Linked DNA regions of Homo sapiens: regions 2, 3 and 4 are each linked to region 1. The links are contacts of gene promoters, found by promoter capture Hi-C in blood cells and fetal thymus (Javierre and others, 2016). All regions are on one chromosome and are shown on one strand. The core of a region is centred on a gene start or on the middle of the fragment in contact, and the rest is flanking DNA. Distances in the headings are between cores, read along the strand shown. Region 1 holds the start of PPP6R1 (protein phosphatase 6 regulatory subunit 1). Region 2 has its middle 7.3 kb from the start of ZNF579. Region 3 has its middle 9.8 kb from the start of ZNF579. Region 4 overlaps SSC5D (scavenger receptor cysteine rich family member with 5 domains).

The links. The method cuts DNA at HindIII sites, captures the fragments that hold promoters and counts their contacts. A CHiCAGO score of 5 or more calls a contact.
Region 2: a fragment that was not itself captured here is called in contact with the fragment with the promoter of PPP6R1 in region 1 in 2 of 17 cell types (fetal thymus and non-activated CD4 T cells); the score reaches 6.6 in fetal thymus.
Region 3: a contact is called between a fragment that was not itself captured here and the fragment with the promoter of PPP6R1 in region 1, in 1 of 17 cell types (erythroblasts). The highest score is 6.0, in erythroblasts.
Region 4: a fragment that was not itself captured here is called in contact with the fragment with the promoter of PPP6R1 in region 1 in 8 of 17 cell types (fetal thymus, naive CD8 T cells, non-activated CD4 T cells and 5 more); the score reaches 6.5 in fetal thymus.

What each region holds. Positions count from the first base shown.
Region 1 is chr19:55,257,677-55,260,511 of GRCh38, forward strand. It overlaps PPP6R1 (protein phosphatase 6 regulatory subunit 1), which reads right to left and starts at 1,341. Exons shown (of 24, transcript NM_014931.4): 1 at 759-1,341. RefSeq lists enhancers at 589-1,563, 1,569-1,768, 1,799-1,848, 1,929-1,978 and silencers at 799-858, 1,029-1,128, 1,259-1,538, 1,445-1,739. The HindIII fragment of the contact is 27,894 bases long and covers 1-2,835 here.
Region 2 is chr19:55,586,763-55,589,597 of GRCh38, forward strand. No RefSeq gene overlaps it. Among named protein-coding and RNA genes, the nearest start is that of ZNF579, 7.3 kb to the left of the region's middle. RefSeq lists a silencer at 600-649. The HindIII fragment of the contact is 6,157 bases long and covers 1-2,835 here.
Region 3 is chr19:55,569,587-55,572,421 of GRCh38, forward strand. No RefSeq gene overlaps it. Among named protein-coding and RNA genes, the nearest start is that of ZNF579, 9.8 kb to the right of the region's middle. The HindIII fragment of the contact is 6,950 bases long and covers 1-2,835 here.
Region 4 is chr19:55,515,131-55,517,965 of GRCh38, forward strand. It overlaps SSC5D (scavenger receptor cysteine rich family member with 5 domains), which reads left to right. Exons shown (of 14, transcript NM_001144950.2): 14 at 2,094-2,835. Among named protein-coding and RNA genes, the nearest start is that of SBK2, 21 kb to the right of the region's middle. RefSeq lists an enhancer at 1,776-2,277 and silencers at 1,797-1,956, 2,087-2,266. The HindIII fragment of the contact is 6,972 bases long and covers 1-2,835 here.

The DNA of each region.
Region 1 (2,835 bases), core at 91-2,590:
CTCTGTGGCCCCCTGCAGCTCCCTAAGTCACCTCGATCACGACACGCAGGAATTGTGACTGTCCGGCTCTGCCTTTGTACCCCCTCCAGGGACCGGCCCCACCTCCAGGGCAGGGCCTAGGGCTGATGCCCCCTCCTCGGTGCCCAGCGCCAGGCTCCCTGCCTGCCCTCAGCAGGCTTCATCTCACTGAAGCAGGCCCGAGTGGTGGCTGCTCCAGAGAAGCCCCGCTCCCAGGTCCCTCGCACAAGAAGCCGGAGGCGGGAGAGGGTCGGTCAAGGTGAAAACAAGCCCCGCTCCTCCAGTCCTGAGCTCCGGGGATCTAAGGAGGCTGCGCCACGGAAGAGGTGGCGGGGCAGAGATCGGGGCGAGAGGGAAGGGTGTAAGCAGGCAAAGTCCAGGGTAACCAGGGAGAAAGACTCCTGGGGGGCCGGGGAACCGGCCAGAGAGGCAAGAGAGCGGAGCTGAGGCTCAGGGACTGGGGAGCGCAGCTGCAGAGAGCGAGTGGGAAAAGGCCGAGAGCAAGAGACTGAGACTAGGGTGGCGGCGGAGCTGAGGTGAAGAGATTAAGAGACTGGGGAGGGTCGAGGGGGAAGAAACGGGGTGCCGTGGAGAGGAAACCCGAAGGAAGGAGGGAAAGGATCCGAAGCAGAAAAGACCCGCGGGGGTCCCGAGAGGGAAAAGCCTGAGGGGACGCGGAGAGGGGAAGACGTGGGCGCCTGGCCCTGGAGAGAGAGGGTCGGGCGACGCGGGCCGCTCACCTGCGAGGGGGGGCGGCGGCTCCTCGCACTCGGGGCTCATCGGGGCGCCCCCCCCCGCCCCGCCGCCGGCGGCTCCGGCCCCTGCTGCGGGGCCCGGTGAGTGGGGGCGGGGGCGGCGTCGGGGACTCGCGCAGGCGCCGGGGCTCGCGGGGTCCGCGCAGGCGCCCGCGGGTCGTGGGGTCCTCGCGCGCCGGGTCCTGCAGAGTTGAGGGGGTCAGCGCCGGGTGGAGTTGCCGACGGGCGGGGGGCGTCACTAGTCCGCGTAGGCACCTCCGGGGTCCGCAGGCGAGGTGGGCGTGCGGGCCGAGGCGGGTTGGCGAGCCGGGTCGCGAGGCCCACGCAGGCGCCTCAGCCGGGAAGACGGGGGAAGTTGCCCCGGTTTCCACAGTCCAACCGAGCGCCCCACGGGAGGGGAAGGCGACCTCCTCCGCGGTCCAAACGGGCCGCAGAGCCGAGCAGCGACCGACGGAAGCCGAGGCCTACTTCCTTAACCACCCCTTCCCCAAAGCCGCTCAATCTCCGGGCTCTGCGGCCGGCCTCAGGGCCTCCGACGCCCGGCTCCCTCCGCCACTATCCCACAATCCCCCTAGCGCAGGACGACGCAGGAGGCCCCGCCCTCCCGCGGCTGTGTTGGTGCGCAGGTGCGGGGGGCGGGGTGCACGCCTGGGCGGTGCAGTGCGCGTGCGCCCGGGCGCTCCCGACACCGCCCACTCTTGAACCCCGCCGCCGCAGACGCGCTTGCGCCCGTTGGTGCCAACGGTCTGCCCCGGAATAAACCCAGACAGCTCAGTGAGCCGCAGCTGCGCACCGGCTCCGTTCCAAGGCCCCGTGAATATTCCGCTCCAGGATTTCCCTTCCCACTCGCTCCGTTTGGAAATCCGTTCGCTGTTCTGTCTCCTCTAATCATAGTGGAGCTTTGGCTCCAGGGTCGGGCTCTTGCGAAATCCAGACCTGGTTTTCGCTCCAGCCAAAGCCAGGCGCCTTCGTTCCGTCCGGCTCTCGCGCTTAGCCGCCTCCGAGCCTCAGAGGCCCTCAGTCGTTTCCGTCTGCTGGCGATAGTCCCGGCCGGGTCGCTGGTGTTGCCAGTTCCGCCCAAAGCAGCTTCTAATAGCATCAACTGAAAGAGACCTCCTAGACCTTGTGTCTAGATTGATGAAGGTCCCTCTGGCTTTGAGCCTCGGTTTCCCCAACTTTAATAGCTCCCCTCTCTACCCATGTTAGAGGCCTACTGTAAAAATCGTGTGGGCGCGAGGAACTTTTTTGTTTTTGTTTTTGTTTTAAGACTCCGAATTGGCCGGGCGCGGTGGCTTACGCTTGTAATCACAACACTTTAGGAGGCCCGAGGCCGGAGGATGGCATGAGACCAGGAGTTGGAGACCAGCCTGGGCAACCTAGGGAGACCCCCGTCTCTACAAAAGAAAATTTAAAAAATTAGTTGGGCCTGGTGGCCCGCGCCTGTGGTCTCAGCTATTCGGGAGGCTAAGGCAGGAGAATCGCTTGAGCCGAGGCTGCAGTGAGCCGGATTGCACCACTGCACTCCATCCTAGGAGACAGAGCGAGAACCTGTCTCAAAAACAAAGGGCCCAGCGTGGTGGCTCACGCCTGCCTGTACTTGAGCTCAGGAGTTCAAGACCCCACGCCTATAATCCCAGCACTTTGGGAGGCCGAGGTGGGCGGATTGCCTGAGCTCAGGAGTTTGAGACCAGCCTGGGCAACACAGTGAAACCACGTGTCTACTAAAATACAAAAAATAGCCGGACGTGGCGGTGTGCGCCTGTAATCCCAGCTACTCAGGAGGCTGAGGCAGGAGAATTACTTGAACCCGGGAGGTGGATGTTGCAGTGAGCCCAGATCAGGCCACTGCACTCCAGCCTGGGTGACAGAGCGAGACTCCGTCTCGAGAAAAAAAAAAAAAAAAAAAAAGAGCAAATTCACCCCTCCTTTGCCCTCTTTGTTCTATTGAGACCCTCAATGGATTGGATAATGCCAGCTCACACTGGGGAGGGAAGATCTTTATTCAGTCTACCGATTCAAATGCTAGTCTCTTCCAGAAATACCCTCATAGACACACCCATAA
Region 2 (2,835 bases), core at 171-2,670, 330 kb after region 1:
ACGGCGCCGGCCTTTAATTTTCAACATGGTACTTATCACGAACACACACTAGGCAATGTGTGAATGTCCCATGGATTCCCTATCTCCCCTGCCACTAGAATAAAAACTCCACAAGGGAAGGGGCTTGTTTTGCCTGTTTAACGGCTCTGCCCACAGGTGGCTGCCCGGGACAGACAAGGGGCTTAACAAGCATTTGTGGATGAATAAAAAGGGATGAAGGGTGGGAGGAGTGAGGCTGTTCCTGAAAGGAAGAAGGCTCGGGGGCCCGGGGGAGACTCCCGCTCAGGCAAGCGTGCAGGACGCTGGCTGGCTCCAAGGTCTGCACGCAGGAATCAGCTCGCCAAACACAGGCGTGTGAGTCGCCGGCGTCTGGCTAGTAATTAATGTTTTGCAACGGTTGAGATCGTCCTCAGGGTAAAATTCCCGCTCCTGTCCTCTCCTCGCTTCCCACCCCCCCTCCAACCTCAATCAGCGTATCTATAAAATGGGGCCGCTATGTGACGCGTTGGGTGCAGTGTCCAGTCCAGCACCGGGCGCTTGTGAGACACGGAGGAAATGGGATGGGTCCTTCTCGTTACCGCCCCAGAAGAGAAAGGACTGTGGTGCAGGTGAGGTGGGTGGGAACCTCAGCCTCGCGAGGTCCCTATTCATTACTCCCTGGCCGGCGGCCATCTCCATGGCAACGCTGGCGCCTTTCCAGTGCGCAGCTCCGGGGCTCAGCCTGTCTCTAAGCCGGTCTCGGAGTGGGCGGGTCTTGTCCCTGGGGGCGGTGCCTGCTTCGAAGTGGGCGGGCCTTGTTTCTCGAAAGAAGATACTTTTTTTCTCAAACCAGAAAGCATGTCTGGTTTTTGAGTGGCGGTTGCAGAGTGGAGAGGAATATCTCTAAGATTTAGCTGATTTTATTCCCAAAGGTTGAGCTTTTTCAAACAGGCAACAGTGGATCTCCATTCAAAAAGTCTCCCTTGAGTGCTAAACTCTTACTTGTTTTCTCCTCCCAGAATATGTCTTCCTCCTTTAAATTTTCCTTTCTTTTTCTTTCTTTTTTAATTTATATTTTAAATTTTAATTAATTAATTTATTTTTTCAGACGGACGTCTCGCTCTGTCACCCGGGCTGGAGTGCAGTGGCATGTTCTTGGGTCACTGCAACCTCTGCCTTCTAGGTTCAAGCGATTCTCCCGCCTCAGTCTCTCGAGTAGCTGGGATTACAGGCGTGCACCACCATGCCCAGCTAATTTTCGTATTTTTAGTAGAGACGGCATTTCACCATATTGCCCAGGGTGGTCCTGAACTCAAGTGATCCGCCTGCCTCAGCCTCCAAAAGTGCTGGGATTACAGGCGTGAGCCAACACGTTCGGAATTATTTTTTATTTTTGAGACGGGGTCGCACTCTGTCGCCCAGGCTGGAGTGCAGTGGTGCGATCATAGCTCACTGCAACCTCGACCTCCTGAGCTCAAGTGATCCTCTCAGCTCAGCCTCCCAAGTAACTGGGACTACAGGCGTGCACCACCATGCCGGTTTTTTGTTTGTTTGTTTGTTTTGTTTTTGGTAGAGACAGGATCTCACTATGTTGCCTAGGCTGGTCTCGAACTCCTGAGCTCAAGCCATCCTCCTGCCTCAGCCTCTGAAATTGCTGGGATTACAGACATGAGTCAACTCGCCCAGCCTAAAATATCTTCTTTGTGAAATATAAGACACACAGAGAAAAAATGCACAATACAAACACACAATTGAATAAATAATTATAAAATGATCGTCCGATTAAGAACTAGAACTTTGTCGGCTATCAGCAACCGTGGAAACTTCCAGGATATCCCCTCCCGCTTAACTTGTCCAGTCCACTATTCTGAGTTTTATAGGACATTGTTGTCCTTGCTTTTTTATATGGTTTACTACTGACAATGTATCCTTAACAATATTACAGTTTAGTTTTATGTGCATTATAATGGGTTTGCTTTTTTTTTTTTTTTTTTTTTGGAGACAGGGTCTCCCTCTGTTGGCCAGGCTGGAATGCAGTGGAATGATCTTAGCTCACTGCAACCTCCGTCCCCCTACCCCAGGCTCCAGCGATCCTCCTGTCTCAGCCCCCCGAGTAGCTGGGCCTACAGGCACACGCCACCACACCTGGCTATTTTTTGTATTTTTACTCGAGACGGGGTCTTGCCATGTTGCCCAGGCTGATCTCGAACTCCTGGACTCAAGCAATCCTCCTGCCTTGGCCTTCCAAAGTGCTGGGACTATAGGCGTGAGCCACTGCACCTGGCCTCAATGTTATGTAAATGAAATCATGCTCTGTTTCTGGCTTTTTGGGTCCTGTATCTTTGTAACTTTCATTCATGATACTGTGTTTATCTGCAGCTCATTCATTCTTGTTGCCGTATAGTATTCCACTGCATAATATGCCATCGCTAATTATCCACTGTATTGCTGATGGGCGTTTTGGTTGTCCTGAGTTTGGGGTTGAAAGTATTGCTGCTATGAATGTTTTTGTATGTCTCTGGGTGCAGGGGGACTTGAGTTAGCATTTACGCCTAGCAGTAGAATTCCTGCATCACAGGATATATGTATGTTCAATATTTGAGAATGGCAACCTGTGGGGCATTTAATTTAAGAAACTCAGCAGGGTGCAGTGGCTCACACCTGTAATCCCAGCACTTTGGGAGGCCGAGGCGGGCAGATCGATCACCTGAGGTCAGGAGTTCGAGACCAATCTGACCAACATGGTGAAAGCCCGTCTCTACTAAAAATACAAAAATTAGCTAGGTGTAGTGGTGCACATCTGTAATCCCAGCTACTTGGGAGGCTAAGGCATGAGAATCACTTGAACCCAGGAGG
Region 3 (2,835 bases), core at 110-2,609, 310 kb after region 1:
TTCTTAAAAAGTGAATCACACACTTCCCACACAGCCTAGCAATTCTGCTCCTAGAAATCTGCCCCAAAGAAATGAAAACATATGCCCACACAAAGACCTGTTGCTGGGCGCAGTGGCTCAGGCCTATAATCCCAGCACTTTGGGAGGCTGAGGCAGGTGGATCACCAGAGGTCAGGAGTTTGAGACTAGCGTGGCCAACATGGTGAAACCCCGTCTCCACTAAAAATGCAAAAATTAGCTGGGTGTGGTGGTGTGCCCCTGTAATCCCTGCTACTCGGGAGGCTGAGGTGGGAGAGTTGCTTGAACCTCAGAGGCAGAGGCTGCAGTGAGCCGAGACTGCACACCACTGCACTCCAGCCTGGGCAACAGAGCAAGATCCCGTCAAAAAAAAAAAAAAAGAAAAAAAACAAAGGCCGGGCATGGTGGCTCATGCCTGTAATCCCAGCACTTTTTGGAGGACGAGGCAGGCAGATCATGAGGTCAAGAGATTGAGACCATCCTGGCTGACAGGGTGAAACCCTGTCTCTACTAAAAATACAAAAATTAGCTGGGTGTGGTGGCTGGTGCCTGCAGTCCCAGCTACTCAGGAGGCTGAGGCAGGAGAATGGCATGAACCCGGGAGGCGGAGCTTGCAGTGAGCAGAGATCATGCCACTGCACTCCAGCCTGGGCAACAGAGCGAGACTCCGTCTCTAAACAAAAAAAAAAGACTTGTACATGCATGTTCACAGCAGCATTACTTAAACAGCCAAAGAGTAGAAACAATACAAACACCCATCAACGGATGAGAGGATAAACAATGTGTGGTGTATCCATACAGTGGAATATTATTCAGCTGTAAAAAAGGAATGAAGAGGGTGGGTGCAATGGCTCATGCCTTTGATCCCAGCAGTTTGGGAGATCAAGGTGGGAGGATTGCTTGAGCCTAGGAGTTGAAGATCAGCTCGGGCAACATAGTGAGACCCCCATCTCTACAAGAAATAAAAATATTATCCAGGTGTCATGATGCACCCTGTGGTCCCAGCTGCTCAGGAAACTGGGGAGAGATGGATCACTTGAGGTTGAGGCTGCAGTGAGCCATGATAGCACCACTGGACTCTAGCCTGGGCAACAAAGTGAGGCCTTCTCTCAATAACAGCAACAACAACAACTAAAAAGCAATTAAGTACTGAACTGACACAATTTACAATGTGAATAGACCTTGAAGACATTATGCTAAGAGGAGGAAGGCAGTCACCAAAGCTACATATGGCATATTCCATTTATATGAAATGTCTAGAATAGGTTCATCCATAGAGACAAAATAGATTCGTGGTTGCCCAGAGCTGAGGGTGGGAATGGAAAATGACTATTAACAGGCACAGAATGTCTTTTTGAGGTGATCAAAATATTCTTTTTAAAATTTTTAATTAATTCATCAATTTATTTATTATTATTATTATTTTTTAGAGACAGGATCTTGTTCTGTGGCCTTGGCTGGAGTTCAGTGGTGTGATCATAGCTCACTGCAGCCTTCAACTCATATAGCTCACTGCAGCCTTCAACTCCTGGGCTCAAGACACCCTCCCACCTCCGTCTCCCAAGTAGCTGGGATTACAGGCACTTGCCACCACAGCCAGCTAATTTTTGTTCAATGTTTTGTAGCGACAGGGTCTTGCTTTGTTGTCCAGGCTGGTCTCAAACTCTTGGCTCCAAGTGCTCCTGCCGCCTCAGCTTCCCAAAGTGCTGGGATTACAGACCTGAGCCACCACACCCAGCCTGGAAATATTCTAAAATTGGATTGTGGTGATAGAGGCACAACTCTGTACATTTATTAAAAATTATCAAATTACGCCTGTAATCCCAGCACTTTGGGAGGCCGAGGTGGGTAGATCATGAGGTCAGGTGTTCAAGACCAGCCTGGCCAACATGGTGAAACCCCGTTCATACTAAAAATACAAAAAAAAATTAGTGAGGCGTAGTGGCAGGCACCTGTAATCCCAGCTACTTGGGTGGCTAAGGCAGAGAATTGCTTGAACCCAGGAGGCGGAGGTTGCAGTGAACCGAGATCAAGCCACTGCACTTGAGCCTGGGCAACAGAGTGAGACTCTGTCTAAAAAAAAAAAAAAAATTATCGAATTGTACGACCAAATGGATGAAGTCTATATGTAAATGGTACCTCAGTAAAGCTGTTTATGAAAAGGCAAAACGAAAACAGAGCCAATAATAGTATCTATTTTATGTGGCTGTTGTGAGGATTAAATGGGCTAATCTACGTAGTACCCTTGAAGCAGACATAGGGTGAATACTCAAGAAGTGGGTTCCTATTATTAACAAATGTGGTTGCAGGCTGGGCACGGTGGCTCACGCCTGTAATCCCAGCACTTTGGGAGGCCAAGGCGGGTGGATCACCTGAGGTCGGGAGTTCGAGACCAGCCTGACCAATATGGAGAAACCTTGTCTCTACTAAAAATACAAAATTAGCCGGGCATGGTGGTGCATGCCTGTAACCCCAGCTACTCGGGAGGCTGAGGCTGGAGAAGCACTTGAACCCAGGAGGCGGAGGTTGCGGTGAGCCGAGATCGTGCCATTGCACTCCAGCCTGGGCAACAAGAGTGAACTCCGTCTCAAAAAACAAACAAACAAGCAAAAACAAACAAATGTGGTTGCGATCGTACGTGTAAAGTGTTCAGCAAGTGAAAGACAAATGGCAGGTCGTGTTCCCTACATAACCACAACTCCTTCAATAATCACCGTCATTTGGTGACTTTATCATTCTCTGCATCTGTCCCACGCATCTGGCCTCAGTTTTCCACCTGCGCAATGAAAAAGCTGGGCTCTATCTCCAAGGCCGTCT
Region 4 (2,835 bases), core at 135-2,634, 260 kb after region 1:
CGCCTGAAATTCCAGCACTTTGGGAGGCTGAGGCAGGCAGATCACCTGAGGTCGGGGGTTCAAGACTAGCCTGAACAACATAGTGAAACCCCATCTCTACTAAAAATACAAAAAAATTAGCTGGGCATGGTGGCACATGCCTGTCATCCCAGCTACTCAGGAAGTGGACACAGGAGAATCACTTGAACCCAGGAGGCGGAGATTGCAGCGAGCCAAGATCGCGCCACTGCACTCCAGCCTGGGCAACAGGAGTGAAACTCCGTCTCAAAAAAAAAAAAAAAAAAAAAGTTAAATGAATTAACACTTTGAAAATGAAACATTTGCCGGGCGCAGTGGCCACGCCTGTAATCCCAGCACTTTGGGAGGCCGAAGCGGGCGGATCACGAGGTCAGGAGATCGCGACCGTCCTGGCTAACACAGTGAAACCCCATCTCTACTAAAAATACAAAAAATTAGCAGGACATGGTGGCGAGCGCCTGTAGTCCCAGCTTCTCGGGAGGCTGAGGCAGGAGAATGGCATGAACCTGGGAGGCAAAGCTGGCAGTGAGGCGAGATCGTGCCACTGCACTCTAACCTGGGCGACAGAGTGAGACTCCGTCTCAAAAAAAAAAATAAAATAAAATAAAAGAAAATGAAACATTTAGTTTCTCATTCACACTGGCCGCATTTCAAGGGCTTGGTAGCCACATGTGGCCAGTGGCTACTGTATTGGCACGGTAGATCACAGCGCATTCCCATCACTGCAGATGTGAGATTTCATTGCCTAGACTCTATGTGCAAACAACTTGGGTTCAAGTCTTAGCCCTGCAACTTGCAAACTATGTCTGTGTGACCTTGGGCGAGTCACCTGCCCTCTTGCCCTAATTTCCCCCTTCTGTAAAATGGGGATAAAATTGGCACTCACTTGGAAGACAGCCCCAGAAGAGGGTCAGGCTCCTCCTGCTACTCAGGCCCAAAATTTAAGGGGGTGCCCAAAACGCCAAAATCAAGATACATAATATCATAATACAGTATTTTTTAAAATGAAAATTAATGCCAAAAAAAAAAAAACCCATGATGAACTCGGTATCAAAAATGTAACTGAAGGCCGGGCGCGATGGCTCATGCCTGTAATCCCAGCACTTTGGGAGGCCCAGGCGGGCGGATCACGAGGTCAGGAGATCGAGACCATCCTGGCCAACACGGTGAAACCCCGTCTCTACTAAAAATACAAAAAATTAGCCTGGTGTGGTGGCGGGCGCCTGTAGTCCCAGCTACTCGGGAGGCTGAGGCAGGAGAATGGTGTGAACCCGGGAGGCGGAGCTTGCAGTGAGCCGAGATCACGCCACTGCACTCCAGCCTGGGCGACAGAGCGAGACTCCATCTCAAAAAAAAAAAAAAAGTCACTGAAGACAGGATCCTATCCGCCTCGCTGGGCTCCCCCTAATCCTGGCCCTGTTGGATCCCGTCTTTGGTTAAAATGTTAACTTTGGTTAACTGTGGATCTTTTGGATTAATTTTGATTGTTTAAAAATATTGCATAAAAACGCTTGAGCCCAGGAGTTCGAGGTTACAGTGAGCTATGATCTTGCCACCGCACTCCAGCTTGGGCGACACAGCCAGACTTTATCTTAAAAAATAAAAAAATCCATAAAAGTATTTATTTTGATTACTAACATTACCCTTCGGAGCCCTCTTTGGTCTCCCTGCCTCCCCTGGCTCCGCACATCTCCCAGTCCCCCGCTGGCTCAGAATCCTCCCGTATGCTGCACGCTTCTGAGCACTCCCGCCCCCTCCCGCACCCCAGCACCCCACGCATCCCTCCCTCACCTCACCCTCCTGCACCCGCTCCCGCAACCCGCGTGCCCCTCGGCATCCCCGAGTCCGGAGCATCCCCGCATCCTCCCGCAGTGGAGGACGCCAGGTGGCGCCTGGAGCCATCGGAGGACGTAGGGAGGAGGGGCCCTAGGGCCGGGTGAAGTCTGCCGGTGACCCATGACGTCTCGAGGCTCTGTGCCTTTCCATTGGTCGGCTCCTCGAGGGGCGGGGCGGGACGCGTGGTGGGCGGAGCCGGTTGACCTCAGACCGTCCGTCTGTCTTTCCTCCTCCTCCAGGTTCCCCGAGGAAACCGTGGCCCGAGCGCCGGCCACCGCGGCCCGCTGCGACCAGGACAGCGCCCCCAACCCCGTCCCCAGGTCCCTCCGCCTCTCCGGGACCCCCAGGCCCAGCGCTGACCTCTGACTCCAGTCGAGAGCTCACTCCCCACTCAGCCTTGACGTCCGAGGCGACCTCTGACGCTCCGGACACTTCACCACCCACCCCAGACCCGGCCTCCCGGACGAACCCCGACCTCATCTTGACAAGCCCTGACTTTGCTTTGTCCACCCCTGACTCCAGTGTGGTTCCCGCGTTGACCCCGGAGCCCTCACCCACGCCCTTACCCACCTTGCCCAAAGAGCTGACCTCTGACCCTTCTACACCGTCGGAGGTGACCAGCCTTTCCCCTACCTCAGAGCAGGTCCCAGAATCTGACACAACCCCAGATTTGGACACAACTCCATACTCCAGTACAGTCTCAGAATATTCTAGATCCCCAGACCCCTCCCCAAGCCCTCACCCCACTACTACCCCTGATCCCACCATGGCCCCTGACCCCATCACAACCCTTAACCCTACTGTGACCCCTCACTTCCCTACCACCCCTCACCCCACCACGACCCCTCACCCCACCACCATCACTCACTCCACCATGATTCCTGACCCCACCACAACCCCTCAACCCTTCACCACCATCACTCACTCCACCATGATTCCTGACCCCACCACAACCCCTCAACCCTTCACCACCATGCAGCC